Linked DNA regions of Homo sapiens: region 2 is linked to region 1. The links are contacts of gene promoters, found by promoter capture Hi-C in human tissues and cell types (Jung and others, 2019). All regions are on one chromosome and are shown on one strand. Each heading gives the region's core, a stretch centred on a gene start or on the middle of the fragment in contact. The rest is flanking DNA. Distances are from core to core; before and after follow the strand shown. Region 1 holds the start of DKK3 (dickkopf Wnt signaling pathway inhibitor 3). Region 2 overlaps LOC107984311 (a long non-coding RNA gene).

The links. The method cuts DNA at HindIII sites, captures the fragments that hold promoters and counts their contacts. A contact is called where the count stands out against the background at its distance.
Region 2: a contact is called between a fragment that was not itself captured here and the fragment with the promoter of DKK3 in region 1, in 1 of the 25 tissues and cell types used here (IMR-90 fibroblasts).

Annotation. Positions count from the first base shown.
Region 1 is chr11:12,003,969-12,009,875 of GRCh38, forward strand. It overlaps DKK3 (dickkopf Wnt signaling pathway inhibitor 3), which reads right to left and starts at 4,658. Exons shown (of 7, transcript NM_001018057.2): 1 at 4,402-4,658. The coding sequence starts at 4,614. RefSeq lists an enhancer at 2,910-3,845. The HindIII fragment of the contact is 8,758 bases long and covers 3,297-5,907 here.
Region 2 is chr11:11,825,709-11,831,689 of GRCh38, forward strand. It overlaps LOC107984311 (a long non-coding RNA gene), which reads right to left. Exons shown (of 4, transcript XR_001748134.3): 3 at 664-794. Among named protein-coding and RNA genes, the nearest start is that of USP47, 13 kb to the right of the region's middle. The HindIII fragment of the contact is 6,108 bases long and covers 1,388-5,981 here.

The DNA.
Region 1 (5,907 bases), core at 3,408-5,907:
GGATTCTGTGCTGGATTCTGAGATGGCTGCTGAGATGTTTGAAACTTGATCACTGGCTTCATAACAATAATAATTCTAAGAATAGCCCCCACGTTTGGGGCATTGACTATGTCTGAATCGTTGCACCAGATGCCTTGAATATTGACAGCAACCTTATGGGGAAGCTGTGATTATAGAGTCAGGTCCAAAAGTTTAAAAAATTGAAATATCTGGATCCCTTCATGGACCCGCTGAATTGGGATTTCTAGAGATGAGACCCTGATAATACTGAGCTTCTCAGCTTATTCTGAGGATTTCCCTCCCCTCCCTCTGATCCCCAGTTAAGAATCTCCGTTCCAGGCAATAGGGAACTACAGCAAGTTCCAGAAGGCTAGCGGGAAATAATATAAAGAGTAGATCAGAAAGAGAGGGGAGTCAGGAAACTGGCTAGAATTAGGTCTAGGAGATGGGAGCTACTTCTGGGTAGGGACCTTCTAGGTGGGAAAGACTCTAAGTAAGTCTAGAAGGATCAAGCCACTGAGAGATGGCCACTGGATGAGTCAAGTCATTGCCTGCAGCATCCTCGGAGAGGAACACAGTGGAAAGTACCAGGATTCTGGAGTCAGACAAGGTGGGTTCAAGTCCTGGCTCTGCCACAAAGTAGCTGTATGACTTTAGGCAAGATACCAAATCCCACTAAACCTCAGCTTGCTCATTTGTAAAATAGGGATGTCCTACTTTGTTGAGTAGATATAAGAATTAAGGACCATGCAGTAGATATAAGAATTAAGGCATGAAATACACTATCTGCCACACAGCAAAGATGAAATACACAGCTGTTTTTATCCCGTTGCCCTTTAAGAAGGCAGTTTCAAAAGAAGCCAGTTTGTTTTGCCAGAGTTCTGAAGGGAATGGGTAGCTAGAAGCAGGAAGAGCAAACGTTGATATCATGTGTTTGAAGAGCTTGCCAACAAAGGGGAGAAGAAATGGGGCTGAGATAGAAGACAGAATGGGCAAGAAAATGACTTTCCTTAAAAGCAAGAGACCTTGCCCTCAGTTACCACTCTGGTTAGTGATAGAAAAAAACGCAGCTGGGAAGAGAAGACTGAAGGTGCTGGAGAGGACCCACCCAGAAGAAGAGAATGTTTTAGTGTTTTTAAAATTCCCATCGGGATCAGTTTGGCTTTCAAATAATTGACAAGTTGCCAAACCTAGAATTTGCTCTGGGCTGAGCAGATAGTCTTTTTATAAAACTTTTCCCCCCAGCTCAGCCACTGGTTATTTCAACAGAATGAGCTAACGGTTCTTAAATGGCACCATGAACTAAAAGTATAGTTTACAATGGAAATTTCAACCGCAACTATTATTGCCACTAGCAAGAGAAACTTAAGTCTGAAGCAAAAGGAGCTGTTTCGTAGAGGAGGAATGTGAATGCTATTAAAAATGGCACTTATACTAGAAATAGGTGAGGCAGTAAGAACATTCTAAAATGAGTGAGTTACAGAGCTGGCCATGAGGGGAAGAGAAACAGAGTGGTTATATCTTCAGAATACATTGATTGGTAGCATATAGAATAGTAACACAGGAAAGTAGGAATATCCCAGATTGAAGCCATTTGAAGATATGCTTCTTCCAATAATGACCGTACAAGTAGAGCTGCTTTGTCCTTCCCCTTAAGAAACTTCAACAGCTTGATTCAGCTGGAACATTGAAAATGCCAGGAAGTTACTTGAAAGGAGATTCATGATGCAACTATGTAAACAAATAATGCATCTGGCCCAGGTCCTTTTTGATTTTTCCCCTGAACAATGACTAAATACCAATTATCCTGTGTCTATGAGATTTAAGGGGCATTCTGGCAGTCTCCATAAAAAGTTAATACTAATAACCACAGTCTATAAACAATCTATTGTATTCTATTTTTGAAGATATCTAAAAGATACTTTTAGTATTTTAAGATTAATTTTTAATGGTTTAAGATATTTTAAAAGATAGATTCTATTGAGAATCTATCAGACACTGGTGGTGTTTTGTTATCATTCATACTGCTACTAGTAATATGATGATAATGATACCTGTTACTTATTTACAACCAACCATCATGTCATCCTTACAGCCACCTCACAATGAAGCTACCTGTATTACACGTGTTTTACTTAACCCCATTTTAGGCAGTCAGCGGATGGCCTGCCCTAGAACCACAGGCATCACAAGCTCAATTTAATGTGAAGCTGCAGAATTAAGAGACATTGGGGCCTATATGACTCCCTTCACCCTTTAATTGTTCCATGTCATGATAGTTTCACAATCACAGGAAACAAAGATCATGGATCTTGGGCTCTTGACCTGACCAGTGGATATTCAGGGATAGCTGCCCAACTCACTGATTTGCTTTACTTGCAGCATCTCATTTAATTCTCACCTTACCCTAAGAGGTGGACATTTCTCCACTTCAGACTCGGAACGCCACTGCCAGTAAGTGGCAGAGCAGGGACTGGATGAGGGAAGATCAGTCCCCACTGCCTCTTCTCCTGCCATGGTGTTCAACCTCTCTCATCCTGTACCCACTGCCAGCGAGGACACCTCTGGGAAAGAGTGGGGTAGAAGTGACAGCCCACATCTCCTCTGGTGGCAAACTTCAACCCCCCAACCTACACAGAGCCACATCTAGAGGGAGGAAAGCTGGGGTCTTGGCAAAATCCAGTCTGGATAACGCCCATGGAGAAGACCCCGTCACTAGGTCCTGCAGGGCCCCACACTGCTCTGCTCAAGAAGAGACTGAAGAGGCCCTTGCTGCTCTCTCTCCTCCCTCAGCAGAAGCTAACGTCAGAGGACCACGCTGCAGACTTTCTGAACAGTGGTGGGCACAAAAACATAGAGGTGACTTAGTCAGTCTTACCGGGAATCTGTGTGCAGGAGGGAAAGTCCTAGAACCTGGATAAGGAAAGCAGATGGCCTGCCCTAGAACCAGAGGCATCGCAAACTCCACTTAATTTGAAGCTTCAGAGTTAAGAGACATTGGGGCCTATCTGAATCCCTTCACCCTTTAATTGCTCCATGTCATGATTGTTTTGCAATCACAGGAAACAGAAAGATCATGGGTCTTGGGATCTGGGCCTGTCCAGTGGATATTCAAGGACAGCTGCCCATTTCACTGCCTCCCAAGCCAGTGTCCCCTTCACTGCAAACTCCACAGGCTAACTGTTGTGGAGTGGGAGGGGAAATAGCCCCAAACTACAAAGGGCTGCGGGGAGAAAGCAACTTCCCCCTGGAGACAAGGGCCAGCAGTTAAGGCTTTGCCCAAGGGGGATACCAAGCTGGAGACAGCAGGGATGTGAAGCCAGACCAGGGGCCAACCAGCCTGGACATTGGTTTCCTGCTGCCTCCTTCACTAGGACGGCTGGCTCCTCTCTATAGACACAGGCTACAGACAGATTGGGCCCAACAGCGCCCTCGTCTACCCACCCCAGGCACCAGGGACAGCTCCCCGCACCTGGACAGAGAGGGCTGGGCCAGTGACATCTCCTGCCCAGGTAGCCCTGGGCATGCGTGGGTGACCATCACAGAGGACAGAACAAGATGCCACCCACAGTGTTTAGACCTGGAGGTGATGGAGGGCAGAAGCTAGGCAAAGCTTTGCTAAGGTACGTGGTATCTGATAATAGTTGCTAAATACTGCGCACCTATTATTTGCCAGGTGCCCACACATATGACATTTAGTTTTCACAGGAAACTGAGGTGCAGGATATTAAGTGATTTGCCCAATGTCACCCTGCTACTGAGTGGCAGAGGAGGACCTGAGCCCAGGACAACTGCGAAGCACCGTTGGGTGGAGGGGGTATTGCCTCTCACATCCTCATCCGCCACTCATACAGTGCTGAGATTTAGGATTTCCATCTTCCCTCTCTGCCCCCACATTGCGTGAGAAGCAAGACAGCCCAGACAGACTGCCAGCAAAGCTCAGGGCTCTTTGCCTCTTTGTCCCTGCATGGCATCCTAACAAGCTCAAAGCATAACGGACAAGCTAGAACTTGGCGATGCCTGGAGCTTGTCCCGGGTTTCTGTGAAACCACAGTGCTGGAATACCAGGGGCCCTGCAAACCTCTGCTGACAATAGGGAAGGCCAACGGCATGCCTGACGCCAACTGCAGGCAGGTGGTGGCCCCAGCTACCTAGGGAGGGTCCAGTGCAGAGCCTCTCGGTGGACAGGCTCAGATCCAGACTTTTTGGCAAGGAGGCAAAACGAGGCGGGAGTAGGGATCACCGTGCGCTGCCTCCAGGTCACTCCGCATCTGCTGTCGGCCCTTCCCAGGCCCTGCGCGGGACCCGAGGTCCCTGGCCAGCGCTCTTCCATGCCTTCCCAGACTTCGCTGCCCCCAGTCTGGCGCTTCTCAGAGCCCCGCGCCGCCAGGGCGCACCCACCTCTTCCACCGCGCTGCGCAATTTGTGCTGCGTGTCCTCCATCAGTTCCTCAACCTCGCGGAACATCTCATTGAGGGTGGCCTCCTCCTGCGGGTAGCTGAGAGCCGGGCCGGGCTTGACTGGAGCCGAGGTCGCCGTCGGAGCGGGCGCGGGGGCCGTGGGGACCGCCGCCGCCAGCAGCAGGCACAGCAGGGTGGCCCCAAGCCGCTGCATCTCCGCTCTGCGCCCGCAGCCGCCGCCTGTGTGTCCCGGAACGCGATCAGAGGCGCGCGGACCACCCCCCTCGCTGGGCCCGCCGCCCCGCCCCGTTCCGCCCCGCCGCCCGCCCCTGGCGCCCCTCTTTCCCGCACCCGCCCGGAGACGGGAGGAAACCGAGGCCCCTGAAAACGCAGCTCCCCTACACCCGAAAAGACGCGACCCCACCCGCTCCAGCCCGAGCCCCGATCGCCCCAGGACCCCGCACCCCCATCCTCGAGCACAAGCTGAGCTCTGCTCCTCACCTGTGATGCTGGAGCCCTCGCCAGAGCAACCGAACCCGGATCCTCTACGCTAATAGCTCCCAAGCCCCAGCTCACCTAGACTCTGTCCCCGGTTCAAACCCTAGCCCCTCCTCGACCAGGTCAGAGTGCCCGACCCCCACTTCCACCTCAAGCCTCTCTCAGCCCCTACCTGGGGTGGACCAAGCACAGGTCAGCCCCCTCCCCTTGGCGTCGGGTCCTACTCGAGCGCCCCGCCCCACATCCACCAAGAGAGGCTGAGCTCAGCAGAGTCGTCCCCTCCCCCGCCGCCGCCCCTCACCCACCCCGACTGGACCGAGTTGCGCTGCGGGCCGGACTGGATCTGCTCGCTCCCGCCGGGAGGCCGCCGGGCTGCGGGTGCAGATGCGGGAGCGGCGCGGTGGGCGGGCCGCGGGTGCGGGAGCGCGGCGGGGTGCGGCAGCGCCGGTACCCGAGGGAGCCCGCAAGACGCGCCCCGCCCGCCCACCAGGCTCCCTCTCCGCCCCCGCCCCGAGCCCCGCCCGCCCACCAGGCCCACCCCGCCCCGCGGAGGGGCCGCAGCCCGGCCATTGGCCAGCCGGGGCGCCGGCCACCTCACGCCCCACGCCCCACGCCCTCCTCTTCTGCCTCAGCGACCAGCTCTACCGAAGGCAGCCATCTCCTTCACTGCCTGCCCCTGCGCCCGCGGCATCCCAGGCCCGTCTTCTCTGGCCTCCAGGCTTGCAACAGCCCACCGAGGTTGGGGGTAGGGGGAATGTTCCTCAGTCCCACCTTGGTCTTTCCAAGCCAACCTCTGTCCTGTGAAATCCTCAGGAAAAATCCCAGCCCCCAGCCTGGCATTCAAGCCATCACCGCTGGCCTTAGTCTGCCGTGATTGACACCGTGCTCCAGCCAGGATAACGCACTTGCAGCTCCTGGAATGGGAGAACGTCATGAGAAAGTCAGCAAGCTCCTCAAGGGTGGCATAGAGGAGTGGTCAGGACCAGACACCTGCAGCCAGCTCTGCTCC
Region 2 (5,981 bases), core at 3,192-5,691, 180 kb before region 1:
TCCACATTTTCAGGTATCTTTTCAGCAACGCCCTCTTCCCGGTACCAATTTACTGTATTAGTTTTCACATTGCTGATAAAAACATACCCGAGACTTGGAAGAAAAAGAGGTTTAATTGGACTTACAGTTCCATATGGCTGGGGAGGCCTCAGAATCATGGCGGGAGGCAAAAGGCACTTCGTACATGGTGGCAGCAAGAGAAAATGAGGAAGATGCAAAAGCAGAAACCCCTGATAAAACCATCAGATCTCATGAGACTTATTCACTACCATGAGAACAGTATGGGCAAAACTGCCCCCATGATTCAAATTTTCTCCCACAAGGTCCCTCCCACAACACGCGGGAATTATGAGAGTACAATTCAAGATGAGATTTGGGTGGGGACACAGAGCCAAATCATATCAGGGCTATACCAAATAGCCTAGGTGTATGGTAGGTTTACTAGGTGTATCATCTAAGCTTGTGTAAGTACACTCCATGATGTTCACATAATGACAAAATTACCTAATCATTTCTCAAAACGTATAGCCATCATTAAAAAAGGCATGTCTGTATATATACACACACAAATATACATGTATACATATGTATGTCCATATGTATATATACATACACATATATATTTACTTGTTACCAATAAAAGAAAAAGAAAAATGTACTAACCTTTTATGTGTGGATTGACATCAGCTCCCCCACTTGGCATGCATGTCTCATGATCTCTTGGTGTACACTGTACCCAGGTCACCTGGGACGAAGTGGTGGAGAGGAGCTCTCACAGCAAAGAGGTGGGGTCACTGAGGGTTCAGTGAGGCAGAGTTATAGATTACATAATCTGGTTTTAACTAATTTGCCCTCAAAAAATAGAAAAGTAACTTTAAAAGATTTTTACAAAAAAAAAACCACTGCAGCATTAAATATATATTAAATATATTAAATATAATGCCAATAATATCAAATGTAGTCAACACTTGATCAGTATGGATTTGAACCACATGGAACCATGTACAGGTGGATTTTCTTCCGCTTTTGCCACTCTGGAAACAGCAAGATCAACCCAACCTCTTCTCTTCCTTGGCCTACTCAAGGTGAAGACGAAGAGGATGAACACCTTAATAATGATCCATTTCCACTTAGTGAACTGTGAATATATTTTCTCTTTGTTATCATTTTCTGAATAACACTTTCTTTTCTATAGCTCTAGTAATAAAGTAATATAGTATGCATGCAGTATATAATACATTTAACATATATAATATGTGTTAATCAACTGCTTATTTATCTGGAAGGCTTCAGTCAACAGTAGGCTATTAGCAGTCAAGTTTTGGGGGACTCAAAAGTTATACCCAAATTTTTGACTGGGGAGGGGAAGGGGGAGCTAAACTCTACCTTGTTCAAGGATCAATTATATTTATGTGGCATTTAGTACAAGCCAGACACTGGCCTAAGTGTTTCATCTCTATTAACTTAGTTAATCCATGCAAAAACCCTGTGAGGAAAGTACTGTTTTAATTCCCATTTTAAACATGAGGAAACTGGGGCGTAGACAGCTTAACGATGTTGCTAGTCAATGGCAGGGCTGCAATGCAACCCAGGCAATTTCTCTCTGGGGTCAGTGGCCTTAACCACAACATGATGCTGCTTGTAAACACAAGGAGACGAGAAAATGGCAGAGCGAACATTCCTCTTCCTCTTGGTACAATACCTCAGCTGCCATCTTAGGAAGCTAAAGCTGTGACAGTGTTGTCAAGTCTGACAAGTGTGTCAGTAAAACAAAGCGTTGTGAAACGATCAAGAAGATATTGAAATATGGATTTGCAATCACTATATTTATTTAGACAGGTTCTTGCTCTGTCACTCAGGCTGGAGTGTAGTGGTGCTCACTGTAGCCTTGACGCCCCGAGTGCAAGCCACCCTCCAACCTCAGCCTCTCAAGTAGTTCGGACTATAGGCACATGCCACCATGCCCAGCTATTTATTTTTATTTTATGTTTTCGTAGAGACAGAAGTCTTCCTATGTTGCCCAGGCTGATCTCCAACACCTGAGCTAGAGCAAGCCTCCCACCTCAGCCTCCCAAAGTGCTGGGATTACAGGTGTGAGCCGTTGCACCTGGCCACCCGTGTCTTTAATGATGAACTTTGCTCTAAGTTGTTAAGTCTCAGGACATTAGCCAACAATAGTAAGACATGTATTGAGTTTATAAATAAATTAATCAATATATATTAGTGATTTATGAAATAAACATCTGGTCAAAAATAATTGGAGAACACTGCCCCCAAAATTAACAGCTAAACAACTTTCTGTGGTAGTCCAGAAGCTTACACTTCAAAATGCTTATTGTAGTTACTTTCTGGAAAATGAGTTTGTGTGTTGAAAACAGTTTTAAGATTCAAATTCCACTTATTACATGTAGACTTAAATAATACTGAATTTTCCCAAACTACTATAAAACATTTTATAAAGACAAAATTTATTTCTAATAGATTTCTCTACTAATAACCAAAAAATGTGTAAGTTCTCAGCATGACATTTGTAATTCTCTTCTCCAGGATTCCCGCGTTGCTTTTGCCTGCCAGGAATGTCTTCACACTTGTGTGTCTATTGGGACGATCAGCACTCAGTTTAGTCTTGGCCATTACATGAAGCATACGACCCATACTGGGCCAATCATAGGTAAAGGGGACCTTTTTTTCTCTCTCTCAAACATTTGACCAATCATCTTGAGGTTCAATTGTCATGTTCACATATAATCCATTTCTCTACACTCAGGTTTATATGTGCACATCTATTATTCTATCTTTCCATCATGCTTGTTTGTTTTAGTCATAGCTAGGGCTTCTGTGTGTGATTGTTCAAGCTGTGCAATGCACGCAGATGCCTGGCTAAGGGTGAGTGAAGGTTCAAGTCTAGCCCAAGCTGTGCTCAAACAGCTGTGAGTTCTGGAGTGCCTTCCCCAATTTTCATGTTGGCTAGCGCTGTTCTAACTAAATTGTGAGCTTCCTGAGAGTAGAGAACATTCTTAGTCGTCTGTTTGACATAGTTCCTGGCAACACGCCTTGTCAGAAGACTCTTAATAAATATCTGTTGAATTGAATTTCAGAGTACATTTTCCGACATAAATTCTGACATGCTCCATCATTTTTAATCTCCTTTATTCAATTATGCAGGCAATAAGTCACCAAACTGACTTTATGCTCTCTTAAGCATCTATCACAATGTCAAACACCTTAGAGATATTTAATGGAGATTAATGTATTATGATAAATGACTATTGCTCATTTTCTGTTCTTTCCATCACATTTTCTGATCTATTTTTATGGTCTACCTTCTAAATTTTATTTATTATATTTTATCTTCCAAAGAATCTTGTATGATTGTAGTGCTCACACACATAATAAATTTTGAAGTTTTTGTGGTTAAATCAACTGAGACTTTGAGTCTGGCTAGGAATTTATGATTCCTCATAAGCAACAGGGCCATGTATACGACAAGAATCCAATCTAAGTGTTGATTATGGGCAACAATGGTGATGATAATTAGGTTTAAAAGCCTATGCTCTGCCAACACATTAGAAAATTAGATAACATTTCTGAAATATTTTTAAACAAAAGATGACCTAATTATCTGTACCTGTAGAAAATTTTATCAACAGTTAGCATCTAAGTATCATTTTCAATTTTTTCTACCAGAGGACTCATGTAAAAAGATAAGATGATACTCCTTTACTTGCATGTTTTGGTCCATGAAAGACTTTGACAAGTTTAGGTGGCATTATGCAAAAACACTACCTGCTCTATCAGATGAAGACAGAGGAAGAAGAAAGGGATAGCAACTGCTAATTACCTTCTTAAAGAAAATGTTCAGCCGGGCGCAGTGGCTCATGCCTGTAATCCCAGCACTTTGGGAGGCCAAGGCGGGTGGATCACCTGAGGTTGGGAGTTCAAGACTAGTCTGACCAACATGGAGAAACCCCGTCTCTACCAAAAATACAAAATTAGCTGGGTGTGGTGGCGCATGCCTGTAATCCCAGCTACTAGGGAGGCTGAGGCAGGAGAATCGCCTGAACCCGGGAGGCGGAGGTTGCAGTGAGCTGAGATCACGCCATTGCCCTCCAGCCTGGACAACAAGAGCAAAACTCTGTCTCAAAAAAAAAAAGAAAGAAAGAAAATGTTCACTTTTAGGGAAGGAGATTGTTAGTCTTCCAGAAAAGAAACTACAAGAATTAAACAATTAGATCTCTTAAAAAATGATGAGGAAGTGGGATCATTTAGTCTAGTGAAAATCACCAAACAATTAGATGAGTAGAAACATTTAAAATTTAAAGAATCAAGCTACAGAGCCCATTGGCTAAAATTTTTAAAGAAAGATCTAGAGATTTCAGATCGTCCAACTCTGCTAAAGAGTGAAAATGATTAGCCATTACTTTCTTCCACTGTAGGTAGATTGCAGTTACCACATAACGAACCAGAAGGTTTAAAGATTGTATCTGTAGAAGCAACTGAGGCTTCACCTATGATGAAAGACTTTGGAGTCAGACTGCTTAGGTTTAAATCCCAGTTCCATTATTTATCTATTTGCCTTATGACTTTGGAAGTTACTTAACTTCTCTATTCCTGTTTCCTTGTCTGTAAAATTAGGATAATAATTGTTCCCAAATCATAAAGTTGTTATGGGGAGTAATAAGATAGAGTGTGTAAAATACTCCATACAGAGCCTGGACCATAGTTAAGAGTAAGTACTCTACAAAAACTTGTGTTTGTCATTAGAGATACAATAAAAAGTTATGAACCAAAGTGGCCAGTAAAAAAAATGAAAGTTTTTATATACTGAGCATCTATAATGTGTCAGTCATTATGTTAACCAGTTTTCATACATTATTTCTTTTAATTTGTTGTCTTCGAATTATTTTAAAAGAATTAAAAGAACACAGTATGATTTAATGTGAAAACGAAAAAGAGAAGATTCCAGCTGGGCACGGTGACTCACGCCTGTAATCCCAGCACTTTGGGAGGCCTAGGCAGTTGAATCACGTGAGGTCAGGAGTTCGAGACCAGCCTGGCCAACATGGTGAAACCCCGTCTCTACTAAAAATACAAAACTTAGCCAGGCGTGGTGGCATGTGCCTGTAATCCCAGTTACTCAGGAGGCTGCGGCAGGAGAATCACTTAAACCTGGGAGGTGGAGGTTGCAGTTAGCCGAGATCACACCACTGCACTCTGGCCTGGGTGACAGAGTGAGACTCTGGCTGAAAAAAAAAAAACAAAAAAAAGAAAAAAAAAAAAGAAAGAAAAAGAGAAGATTCTAACTAACTCTTTACTTCCACCGACATTGAGAACTTCCATTCCAGTGACTTAGAGATAATTACTACAAACTTTTCTGAGGAGAGGAGGAAGGGGGAGGAGCATATTCTTCTAGAGATTTCTATGCTTATACTGGTGTACATATTTATAACACCATCTTTCAGTACACAAATGCCATACATACAATCCTGCAAGTTTCTTTTTCTTATTTGTTATATCTTGATCTTCTATCTCACCTTTTTTAAATAAACTTTTCATTTTTGCATAATTTTGGATTTACAGTAGAGTTGCATATTAACATTTTACATAATCAAGGTGTGTCCGGAGTTGGTTCCTTCTGGTGAATTCTTGGTCTCGCTGACTTCACAAATGAAGCCATGGACCTTCACGGTGACTGTTACAGCTTTTAAAGGTGGCACAGTCCCAAAGAGTGAGCAGCAGCCAGATTTATTGTGAAGAACGAAAGAACAAAGCTTCCACAGTATGGAAGGTGACTCGCGGCTTGCCGCTTCTGGCTGGGGTGGCCAGCTTTTATTCCCTTATTTGTCCTCGCCCACGTCCTGCTGATTGGTTCATTTTACAGAGTGCTGATTGGTCCATTTTACAGAGTGCTGATTGGTGCATTTACAATCCTTTAGCTAGACACAGAGCACTGATTGGTGCATTTACAATCCTCTAGCTAG